Linked DNA regions of Homo sapiens: regions 1, 3 and 4 are each linked to region 2. The links are contacts of gene promoters, found by promoter capture Hi-C in blood cells and fetal thymus (Javierre and others, 2016). All regions are on one chromosome and are shown on one strand. The core of a region is centred on a gene start or on the middle of the fragment in contact, and the rest is flanking DNA. Distances in the headings are between cores, read along the strand shown.

Region 1 (2,700 bases), core at 58-2,557, 690 kb after region 2:
CCCTGATGGAGAGTGAGATGATGGAGATCTTGTCAGTGCTAGCTAAGGGTGACCACAGCCCTGTCACAAGGGCTGCTGCAGCCTGCCTGGACAAAGCAGTGGAATATGGGCTTATCCAACCCAACCAAGATGGAGAGTGAGGGGGTTGTCCCTGGGCCCAAGGCTCATGCACACGCTACCTATTGTGGCACGGAGAGTAAGGACGGAAGCAGCTTTGGCTGGTGGTGGCTGGCATGCCCAATACTCTTGCCCATCCTCGCTTGCTGCCCTAGGATGTCCTCTGTTCTGAGTCAGCGGCCACGTTCAGTCACACAGCCCTGCTTGGCCAGCACTGCCTGCAGCCTCACTCAGAGGGGCCCTTTTTCTGTACTACTGTAGTCAGCTGGGAATGGGGAAGGTGCATCCCAACACAGCCTGTGGATCCTGGGGCATCTGGAAGGGCGCACACATCAGCAGCCTCACCAGCTGTGAGCCTGCTATCAGGCCTGCCCCTCCAATAAAAGTGTGTAGAACTCCACTGTGTGCCCTGTCCTTGGGCAGGGAGGGCTGCTGTGAGTGGGAGTCTCTGAGTGGGTGAGTGTGGGTGAGTATGGGTGTGAGCTGGGCGTGGGTGAGTGTGCAACGGAGCTTCACAGTGGCAGACCCACCTCCATGGAAGGAATCCAATGGATTCCCCAACCAGGGCCCACTGAGTTGCTTCTTAATCCTACTGGAGGGACAAAGGGTAAGCCTAGGAAGCTAATCAATAAGAAACTCACCAGGTGCGGTGCCTCAAGCTTGTAATCCCAGCGCTTTGGGAGGCTGAGGCAGGTGGATCACTTGAAGTCAGGGGTTCGAGACCAGCCTGGGCAACAAGCAAAACTCTTTCTCTATAAAAATACCAAAAAAAAAAAAAAAAAAAAAAAAAGAGCAGAGTGTGGCGGCATGCACCTGTAATCCCAGCTACTCGGTAGGCGAAGGTTGCAGTGAGCCCAGAGCGCAGCCTCCCAAAGTGTCGCCTGGGCGACACAGCGAGACCCTATCTCAAAAAATATTAAACTATCCCAAGAAATAAGTCGTTTAGGGTAGAGACTCCCATATGCTGGGCCTTCAGTACGTTTGTCTTTATATTGGGAGTCCTCTGTGGCCTCCGCTGAGGGCGCTGGGGCGGGGGTTGGGGTTGGTGGCCAGCTGAGCCTGGTTGAAGGGCGGCTTGGGCCCCGCCCACCACCCCAGCACGTTCGAGGAGGGCTAAGCCCAGCGTGAGGCTCGTTGGCTCGACAGAGGCACGTGACGGGTCCTGAGCCAATCCGTGGAAGGTAAAAGCTGCTTCCTGTTGGGGCATGAGTCCGGCGCGTGTCGGGTTTTGAGCTGCCGCGGTCCCGGGACTGAGGTGGGTGGCGGGGTCCGCCCGTCTTGGGCGTCACTCCTCGCCAAACCTTTAGCTCAAGTCTTAATGAATGTCCTCTCTGTGGTTCTAATCCGAGCTCCAGCCCCACGGGTTCCTGCAGGGGCGGGACCACCTGGCCCAACCTCTGCCTTGGTCCAACGCCCCCGGTTTCCTCCAGGGCCTTGGTCCAACGCCCCTCGGAGGTTTCAGCCCATTTCACAGACCGGGCCGCAGGGCCCCGGCGTAGGCCTCGGGACCGGAGAGGCCCTCAAGGGGAGTTGAACAGGGCTGCGGCCGCCGCGCCCCGGGCGGCGACGTCACCGCCCTTGCTGGTGATTGGCCGCCTCGCGCCGCGCGCCCTTCAAACCTTTTCTCCCCGTGGCTGTCGGCGCCCGCTGGGCGGGAGGCCTTTCCGGAGGCGGCCGCTCTGCGCCTCGGCGTTTCCTCCAAGGCTGCCCACCAGAAGGACCTGCCCGAGAGGGTAGAGGGCATAGGGTCAAGATCAAGGTCAGAGGCCCCCTTGGGTTGGGAGAGGACACGGAAGGGGTTAGGAGCCCAGGAACTGGGGTCTCAGGAGAGACCCAGGATCTGACTTAAGAGGCCTGAAAATGCCCATGCAATTCTGCTTCAGCCCGGGTGCAGCGGCTCACGCCTGTAATCCCAACGCTTTGGGAGGCCGAGGCGGGCGGATCACTCGAGCCCAGGAATTTGAGACCAGCCTGGGCAGCATAGCGAGACCCCTGTCTCTATTATATTAAAAAAAAAAAAAAACAAACCCGCTCCAGCCGAATCTGCTTGAAGTTGGCGTTGCTGTTGTAACCACCAGACTGTTTGTCTCCCCATTTAACGGTTAGCTCCTTGGGAGCAGACAGCTGTCCTCACTGGCAGAGGAGGAGCGCTCAGTAAATGCTCGCTGGACGAATAAATGGCTAGATAAGGTACAGTTGAAATTCTGTCTGTATAAGTTTCTCAAAACCAGTAAGATGTCCAGGGATAATTTTTTTGTCAACACTAAATACTGGATTCAGTAAGCTAATACTGTGTGTTTATCATGGCATGTACTCGCACCAAACCCTTTATTTGCATTTATTACAATTCTGTGAGGAAGGTTCAAACAGCACCGCCCCCACCTCCCTTTGTAAACTGAAGAAACGCAGTTGGACTCAGGTGGATTGGCTGCGGTCCCAAGGCCCCGCTGAGTTGCAGAGGCACTGCCTCCCAAACGCTCTTCTGCGTTCCGCTGTGGGGAGAGGGGCAGAGCACTGTGTGTGGAGTTGGTGGGACCTGATTTCAGCGCTCTGCCCCTCTCTGTCTGGCTGTATGAGTGTGTA
Region 2 (2,700 bases), core at 140-2,639:
CGGGCTCAAGTAATTCTCCTGACTCAGCCTCCTGAGTAGCTGGGACTATAGGCACACACCACCATGCTCGGCTAACTTTTGTATATTTTGTTTTTGCCACGTAGCCCAGGCTGGTCTTGAACTCCTGATCCACCTGAATCAGTCTCCCAAAGTGCTAGGATTACAGGTGTAAGCCACCGCACCAGGCCTATTTAATCCTTTCTGTACACTAGACCCTGGTGATAGAAATGGCAGAAATACAGTCCCAGCACTCAAGAGGTAATAGGAACATGGACAAAAAGACATACCATACCAATTACAATACAGTGTGGGAAAGACAGTGGAGGGAAGCATGAGATGCCCTTCCTCTGTGTTGGTAATTGGGCCACAGTTGGGAAAGAGGTGAACAAATCTCTTCTGTGAATACCAACTCAGGGACATCCATGTTTCCACTGCAGAAGGACAAGCCAGCAGAAGGCTAGAAGCCATAAACCGAGTCCTGGCAGGATCAGTGCCACCCACTTTAACCCCAAAGCAGGGCTATTTTCTGCAACCGGAAAGAGTGGCATCTGACTCATGGACTGAATGCACCTTGCCCTCCATGGTAAACTCTGAACACAGAGCAGCCAAGGTTCCCCTCTGCCCTGCGTCTGCACCCATGCTGCAGCGTTCCAGAGCACTCCTCAACATCAATCAGTTCAGGTAAAAGCAGGAGGGAAGCACTCTACCTCTCCTGGATAACCTCCCCAGGTTTCCAAAGGGCATTAAATCTTTGCTAAATGAATGACTGCCACCAAGTTCCACTTTGAAAAGCCCTGCCCAGGAACCCCATTTGTATAAGGCAAAATACAAAGACACCAAGAATTCCTCAATACCCTAAGATTAATTGGGGATCGGTAAAGACTAGAAGATGAAGAGGCGCCAAGGCCAGCCATGTACTCATTTCTGCTCATCAAGCCTTAGCCTGGGTTTATCGCTAGGTGATGGGTCTGAACCCTAGGTGCGGCCCGGGGCTGGAGGCCATCCAGGAGACAATGAGCCCCTTTCCCAGAGAAGCCGAGTGCCCAAGGCACTGGGCTGTCGCCGTCAGAAGACTGCCGAGCGGAAGCCCTGCCCACCGAGGTGGCGGAGACAGGCAGGCCTGGGCAGCCGCTGGGGCGGAGGGACGGCTCTTGGAAACGGAATCCGTACTTTAATTAAAGTTTATGCAGTTTTCCAGGAGCGTCCTGTACCTCATTTCGGCCCTCACGTTTCAGGGAAGCCCTCTCCACAGTTACAGGCAGAAAGGGTGGGCCACTGAGCAGCGTGAGCCCAGATCTTACCCCCACCAAGTGAAGCGGGAAATAACTTGCTACTACCCAGCCTCCGGCCCGCCCCTTCCACTTCCGGTCTTACCCGGCTACTTCCGCTGCTGTTTCGTAGCCGACTGCTGAAGGCTGGTTTGCGTCGACATGGCGGTTACCCTGAGTCTCTTGCTGGGCGGGCGCGTTTGCGCCGCCGTCACTCGCTGTGGGTTCGCGACCCGGGGGGTGGCGGGCCCAGGCCCTATTGGCCGGGAGCCGGACCCCGATTCCGACTGGGAGCCGGAGGAACGGGAGCTGCAGGAGGTGGAGAGGTACCGGCTTCTCCCCGGGCCCTCAGCTTGAAGCAGGGCCTCGTGCCCCGGCGCTCCAGGCCGCGCCCCCTTGGCGCCGGGTGTCCTGCCGCTGCTTGCGCAGCGGCCCTTGTTTCTTCTTACCCGTTGTTAGGGGCGCAGCGTCAGGTGTTCAGCTCCCCTGGGACCACTGGTCCCTTCATTAGTGACGTATTTCATCATCAGTTTAGAGAGTTCGGCATGCTTACAGGCAGTTATTGTTCTAGGTGTTAGCTTTCTGGGTGTACGGAGCAGCTCTAAGCCGGCAACATGGCCCGGTTGCCCTTGCGATCAAAGAGAAGAGGGCTGGGCGCTCCATGATTTAGCCTGAGGCTCTTCAAACATCCATTCTGCTTCCACGCATGGCTTCTGCCATTGGTTCTCTTCCCCCAGCACCCTGAAACGACAGAAACAAGCAATCCGATTCCAGAAAATTCGGAGGCAAATGGAGGCGCCTGGTGCCCCGCCCAGGACCCTGACGTGGGAAGCCATGGAGCAGATACGGTGAGACTCAGGATACCTTGTTTGTATCCGCTGTGATGAGAAGTGAAGGATGCTGGAGCCCAGAAACGGGTTTGGCTTTTTTGATACTGCTTTTATATTTTCGTTTACTTTTTGTCGTTGAAATTTATTATCAGAAAAGTAGAGTAATATAACGAACTTCCCTAACCCTGTCATTATCTAGATTTAATAGTGTTTTGTTTTGTTTTTTAAAGAGACGGGGTTTCGCTATCGCCTCGAACTCCAGACCTCAAGTGATTCTCCCGCCTCGGCCTCTCAGAGTGCTGGGATTACAGGCATGAGCCACTGCGCCCCGCCTGGTTTTAATAGTTTTTAACGTTATGACGTGGTTGGTTCATTTTTACTGAAATTTTTAAATAGTAAATCGCAGACATCACAACATTTAACCCTTGAATGTAGGTTGTGACGTTCCCAACCTAAGGTACAGGGATGCTGGTGCTTCCATAGGTAGGTGCATTTTTCTGAAGACAGGATCTATAATTTAGGAAAGCTTAAAAGAGTTTTTAAGTTTTTTTGTTTTGAGTAGGTAAAGTATTACATATGGCTCAACCTAACAGTATAACATG
Region 3 (2,700 bases), core at 57-2,556, 600 kb after region 2:
CCATTGTTGTGCTGGCATACTGGGCAGTTTCAAGTTTGGGAGTTTTCTCCCTCACTGCTAGCTGTCTCAGAGCTTAGTTCCCAGCAGACAACTCTTGCTGCCTCGAACCCTGGCACACTAACCACCATCCTGTGACGTTCCCACTCCTCATTCTGCGACAGTGGTTCTTTGCTGGGAGAGATTTTTGTCTCCCAAGGGACATTTGGCAATACCTGGAGATCTTTTTGGTTGTCATCATGGGAGCGGGAATGCTACTAGCAGCTAATGTTTAGTGACTAGGGATGCGACTGAACATCCTGCAATGTAGAGTGCAGTGTCCCCTACAGAGAATTATCCGACCCAAGATGTTGATAATGCCAAGGTTGAGAAACCCTGTTCAGGATGACAAACTGATTGAAAACTCAACAAGGGGACCGGGCGTGGTGGCTCACGCCTAATAATCCCAGCACTTAGGGAGGCCGAGGTGGGTGTATCACTTAAGGTCAGGAGTGCGAGACCAGCCTGGCCAACATGGCAAAACCCCATCTCTACTAAAAATACAAAAAAAAAAAAAAAAAATACGAGTGGCGTAAGCCTGTAATCCCAGCTACTTGGGAGGCTGAAGCATGAGAATCGCCTGAACCCAGAAGGCAGAGGTTGCAGTGAGCTGTGATCAGGCCATTGCATTCCAGCCTGGGCAACAGAGCGAGACTCTTGTCTAGAAAAAAAAAAAACAAACCCATAAAACAAACAAACAAAAAAAACTATGAGGATTGAGTGATTCACATTTCTGAATCGAGAGAGAGAAGGATGGGCAGCAGGCTTGTTGAAGCTGGAAGGCCAGGGAGGTCGCAGACTGAGGAAGACCCTGGTGTGTCCCAGGTACCTCCATGCAACCCTACTAGAGAGGTGGTCTCTGGCTTCCTATGGACAAGCTCTAAGGGACCCAGCTATGGGGCACCAGAGCCCAGCGTTCAGCAGCTGCTCAATGAATGTCTGCCAGGCGAGACTGCACCCAAAGCATTTATTAGGTACATAATTGTGGCAGCACTGGCTGGCCATGGAAGGCAAGGCAGAACACAAGGAGCTGGAGCTGGCGGAAGGAAGTCATTAAGTCAGCCAGTGGCTGGGATGCAGCAAAGCCAGGCAGAAGGTAAGTGCAGACCCACCCCAATAAATGAGGAAAATGAGAAGGGCTGGCTGGCCATGTTAGGATCCAGTTCCAGTGCGACCAGATATGTCACCACCACATCACTTTTAGCTCCTCCCCCCACCCACAGACACCCTGTTTGCCTGTCATATAAAGAAGGTTTTCCCAAAGTGGTTTAGCCAGAACTGGAAGGGCCCCGCCCTGTGAAGGGATAGGAGCCTGACTGTTGCAGCTGCAGTGAGTGGCGGGGAAGCAGCAGCGGCCAGGATGAATCCCAGGTGCTCTGGAGCTGGATGGTGAAGTATGGACATGCTTTATTCGATTTTGCATTGACTTAAAGGTTTAATTATTTTAGGAGTTCTTGTAGACATTCCTGAAAAATGCAGGTAGGCAAAAAGAAGAAAACAAAGATCGCAAATGTGACCCTTTCATTCGGAGAGAACACCAATGGAATTTTGTTGTGCACCCTTCTATGCACGTCTGAATGTTGTGTAGACATTCTGCTTACAACTAGGTGTGGGTGCTGCTGCCGAAGGCTTTATTTGCTGTGCCTGAGGTGGACCAGAGATTTCAGAGAAGACTCCCAGAGCACCCCAAGGAGACAACAGGAGTGCTTGGAGTCAGGATGACTGGGTGGATTTAGGACTATGTGATTCTCAGGAGCCTCTCTGGATTAGCCCCAAATCAAGGATAAAGAGAGGCCTAGCTGGACTCTTCCTCCCAGAGCCCTGCTGGGAAAATGGAGCCCCTTTACAGCCCCCACTTACCCATCAGGCCCTGCTCCTCTCACTCATCTCCAGACTTCTGTCACATGCCCAAGTCCTGCTAACTGCTGTGTAAAACTGGTAAGGTGGGATCCAGAGGACCTTGGGCCCCTAGGGCCCCAGGTCAGGAGACCTGGGCTCCAGGGCCAGTTGAGAGTGATAAAGAGAACAATACCTGCCCACAGGACTTGTTGCAATGAGATAAAGGCAGAAGTCACCAGTTGTGGTCAAATGGGATTTTTTTCCAGAGAAGTCTCACAGAGAGTGGCTTTCAAATTCTTTTTAGCAGCAGAATTGTTGTAAAATACAATCTCATGTGAAACCCTAAAATGTGAGACACTCTGGGTGAAGCAGAGAGAGGTGCTCAACTGCCCAATCCTGTCCTCATTCCTCCCTCTCAGGGAGGCACCTCTGAGAACCCACTTTAAAGAATTTTGCCTTATGCAGATTGAAGAGGCAAGCTGGCTGGAAGAAACTGGGAAGCTCCACTTCCCACCGCCTCTGCCTGGGTGGCAGTCATCTGAGCCTAGGCTAGCCCCTCCCCCTCCAAAGACCCACTGCGGGCTCCCCTGGGGCCAGTCTCCAGGATGGGTGGGGCACCTGAAGCAGCAAGTATTGCTATTTTTCTGGGCTGACCTTTCTTCTAGGCCTGAGGACAAGTGGGTAGGTGGGGCCAGCCCTGTCCCTGTTTCCCCTCAATGGAGTTCTCTTGCTCACAGCCTAAGGAAGAAGCGTGAGTCACTTCCTGCCTCAGTCTGACTGCTGGAGTATTGTTCTCCCAACTGTGGCTGGCGCTACCCAGTGTGG
Region 4 (2,700 bases), core at 27-2,526, 730 kb after region 2:
ACTTCCTAGGCTCAGGTGATCCTCCCACCTGAGCCTCCGGAGTAGCTGGGACTACAGATGTGAGCCACCACACCCAGCTAACTTAAACAATAAAATTTTTTTTTAGGCCGGGTGCGGTGGATCACTCCTGTAATCCCAGCACTTTGGGTGCCAAGACCGGCGGATCACGAGGTCAGGAGTTTGAGACCAGCCTGGCCAATATGGTGAAACCCCGTCTCTACTAAAAATACAAAAATTAGCTGGGTGTGGTGGTGGGCACCTGTAATCTCAGCTACTCGGGAGGCTGAGGCAGGAGAATTGCTTGAATCCGGGAGGTGGAGGTTGCAGTGACCTGAGATCACGTCACTGCACTCCAGCCTGGGTGACAGAGTGAGACTCCATCTCAAAAAATAAAATAAAATAAAATAAAAAATAAAATAAATAAATAAATAAATAAATAATTTTTTTTTTTTTTTTAAGAGGTAGAGTCTCTCTATGTTGCCCAAGCTGTTCTTGAACTCCTGGGCTCAAGTAGTCCTCCCACCTTGGGCTCCCAAAGTGCTGGAATTATAGGTGTGCGCCACCTTGCCTAGCCGAAAAGTAGATTTGTAGTTGCGGCTGGGGAGAATTTGGACCATGGGGTGAAAGGGGATTGACTGCTAATGGGATTTTAAAGGGGTGATAAAAATGTTCTAAAATTGATTGCAGTGATGATTGCACAACTCTGAATATTCTAAAAATCACTGAATTATAATATACAATTTAAGTACATTGTATGGTATGTGGATTATACCTCAAAGCTGTTATTAAAAACATCTTGGCACATAATCTAAAACATTTTTGGTTTCTTTTTTTTTTCTTTTTTTGAGACAGAGTCTCAGTCTGGCACCCAGGCCGGAGTGCAATGGTGTGATCTCAGCTCACTGCAACCTCTGCCTTCTGGGATCAAGCGATTCTCCTGCCTCAGCCTCCTGAGTAGCTGGGACTACAGGCACACGGCACCACGCCCGGCTAATTTTTGTATTTTTAGTAGAGACGGGGTTTCACCATGTTGGTCAGGCTGGTCTCAAACTCCTGACCTCGTGATCCGACCGCCTCGGCCTCCCAAAGTGCTGGGATTACAGGCGTGAGCCACTGTGCCCGGCCCATAATCTGAAATGTTTTTGATTTGTGACTTAATTGAAAAACTTACAGATTTTTACTATGGCCGGGCGCGGTGGCTCGTGTGCAATCCCAGCACTTTGGGAGGCCAAGGCGGGCGGATCACCTGAGATCAGGAGCTCGAGACCAGCCTGGCCAACATGGTGAAACCCCATCTCTACTAGAAATACAAAAATTAGCTGGGCGTGGTAGTGGGTGCCTGTAATCCCAGATACTCAGGAGGCTGAGGCAGGAGAATCACTTGAACCCGGTGAACCCAGGAGGCGGAGGTTGCAGTGAGCTGAGATCATGCCATTGCACTCCAGCCTGGGCAACAGAGCAAGACTGTCTCCAAAAAAAAAAAGAAATAAAAATTTTACTAATATATAACGTATTTTATTTGGCCTGTTGGAAATGGGTGTTTGGAATTACCAAACACCCATTATTATTATTCTAGTTAGAGACACTTCCTGTAAGAGGATCATTTTCAAATTAAAAACTAACATTTCTCACTCTTCCTAACATTCAAATTGTACTGAACTTAATTTTTTTTTTAAACTTAAATCTTGTATCATCCTTGACACTTCTTTCTTATATGCCCGCCATTAGCATTATCTACACAAGACAGGCAGAATCTCACTCCTCCTGACCTCTGCTGCTACCACTACCACCCCCACCCTGGTCCAGGTCACCACCACCAACTTCTTGCTGTATGGCAGGGGCCTCTTAACTGGTCTCCCGGCTTCGAAGCTGGCCTCCTTAAGTCCATTGTCAACACAGGAGCCCCAAGTCCTAATCTTCTACTCAGAACCCTCCAACGACTTGCCATCTCACTCTAAGGAAAAGCCTCTGACTTTCCAAAGACCTATGGAGCCCCATTCCATCTGAAAGCCATTTCTTTTGACCTCAGTGCTCATTCTATTCCTGTCACAGCGACCTCCTTGCTCTTTCTGGAACATACCAGGCGCTATCTCCCCTTAGGGCACTTGGATTTGCTGATTCCTCTACCTAGATCTCTTTTCCCCCATGCTGCATGGCTTCACCCTTTTCCTTCTTAGGTCTTTGCTCAGAGATCACCTTCTCAGGGAGGCCTTTCCTGACCCATCTCTTTAAAACCACAACCCCCCTTCCTACACCTTCAGTACTTCTTAACCTCTTGATTTCTCTACATAGCACTTACCACCATTTAAGACTAACTTATTTATTACACTCCTCTTTTGCTATTAGAATATAAACTCTGTGAGGGCAGGGATGTCACTTTTGCTCACTGCTATATCCCCAACACTTGCAATGGTTCCTTGTATATAACAAACATTCAAGAAGTATTTTTCTTTTCTTTTTTAGTATAAATTATTATTTTTTAAATAGAGACAGGGTCTTGCTATGTTGCCCAGGCTGGTCTTGAACTCCTGGGCTCAAGTCATCCTCCCACCTTGGCCTCCCAAAGTGCTGGGATTACAGGTGTGAGCCACTGTGCCAGGCCCAAGAAGTCTTTTTGAATGAATAACGTGACATTTCAAAAAAGTTGTATGATCTTAAGATGCTTCAGAGCAATCATTATGAACAATTATCATGATACAC

Evidence for each region. Contacts are between HindIII fragments. The CHiCAGO score rates a contact against its expected background, and 5 or more counts as called.
Region 1: the fragment with the promoter of RCCD1 here is called in contact with the fragment with the promoter of NGRN in region 2 in 8 of 17 cell types (naive CD8 T cells, non-activated CD4 T cells, total B cells and 5 more); the score reaches 9.4 in naive CD8 T cells.
Region 3: the fragment with the promoter of FURIN here is called in contact with the fragment with the promoter of NGRN in region 2 in 4 of 17 cell types (naive B cells, erythroblasts, total B cells and 1 more); the score reaches 7.3 in naive B cells.
Region 4: a fragment that was not itself captured here is called in contact with the fragment with the promoter of NGRN in region 2 in 1 of 17 cell types (naive CD4 T cells); the score reaches 5.4 in naive CD4 T cells.

What each region holds. Positions count from the first base shown.
Region 1 is chr15:90,953,577-90,956,276 of GRCh38, forward strand. It overlaps RCCD1 (RCC1 domain containing 1), which reads left to right and starts at 1,308. Exons shown (of 8, transcript NM_001017919.2): 1 at 1,308-1,372. UNC45A (unc-45 myosin chaperone A) reads left to right here. Exons shown (of 20, transcript NM_018671.5): 20 at 1-517. The coding sequence ends at 140. It overlaps RCCD1-AS1 (RCCD1 and UNC45A antisense RNA 1), which reads right to left and starts at 917. Exons shown (of 2, transcript NR_170325.1): 1 at 759-917. RefSeq lists enhancers at 1-165, 990-1,544, 1,345-1,454 and a silencer at 1,675-1,804. The HindIII fragment of the contact is 3,970 bases long and covers 775-2,700 here.
Region 2 is chr15:90,264,283-90,266,982 of GRCh38, forward strand. NGRN (neugrin, neurite outgrowth associated) reads left to right here and starts at 1,390. Exons shown (of 3, transcript NM_001033088.3): 1 at 1,390-1,594; 2 at 2,006-2,116. The coding sequence starts at 1,431. TTLL13 (tubulin tyrosine ligase like 13) reads left to right here. Exons shown (of 15, transcript NM_001396017.1): 15 at 438-1,195. The coding sequence ends at 685. It also overlaps a transcript of CIB1 not described here. RefSeq lists enhancers at 402-1,373, 861-990, 1,351-1,580, 1,374-2,344. The HindIII fragment of the contact is 8,147 bases long and covers 1-2,622 here.
Region 3 is chr15:90,867,282-90,869,981 of GRCh38, forward strand. It overlaps FURIN (furin, paired basic amino acid cleaving enzyme), which reads left to right and starts at 1,307. Exons shown (of 16, transcript NM_002569.4): 1 at 1,307-1,430. RefSeq lists enhancers at 1,839-2,700, 2,281-2,330, 2,398-2,692, 2,431-2,540, 2,478-2,700. The HindIII fragment of the contact is 27,514 bases long and covers 1-2,700 here.
Region 4 is chr15:90,989,952-90,992,651 of GRCh38, forward strand. The region is part of intron 1 of PRC1 (protein regulator of cytokinesis 1); the gene reads right to left. Among named protein-coding and RNA genes, the nearest start is that of PRC1, 3.2 kb to the right of the region's middle. The HindIII fragment of the contact is 7,498 bases long and covers 1-2,700 here.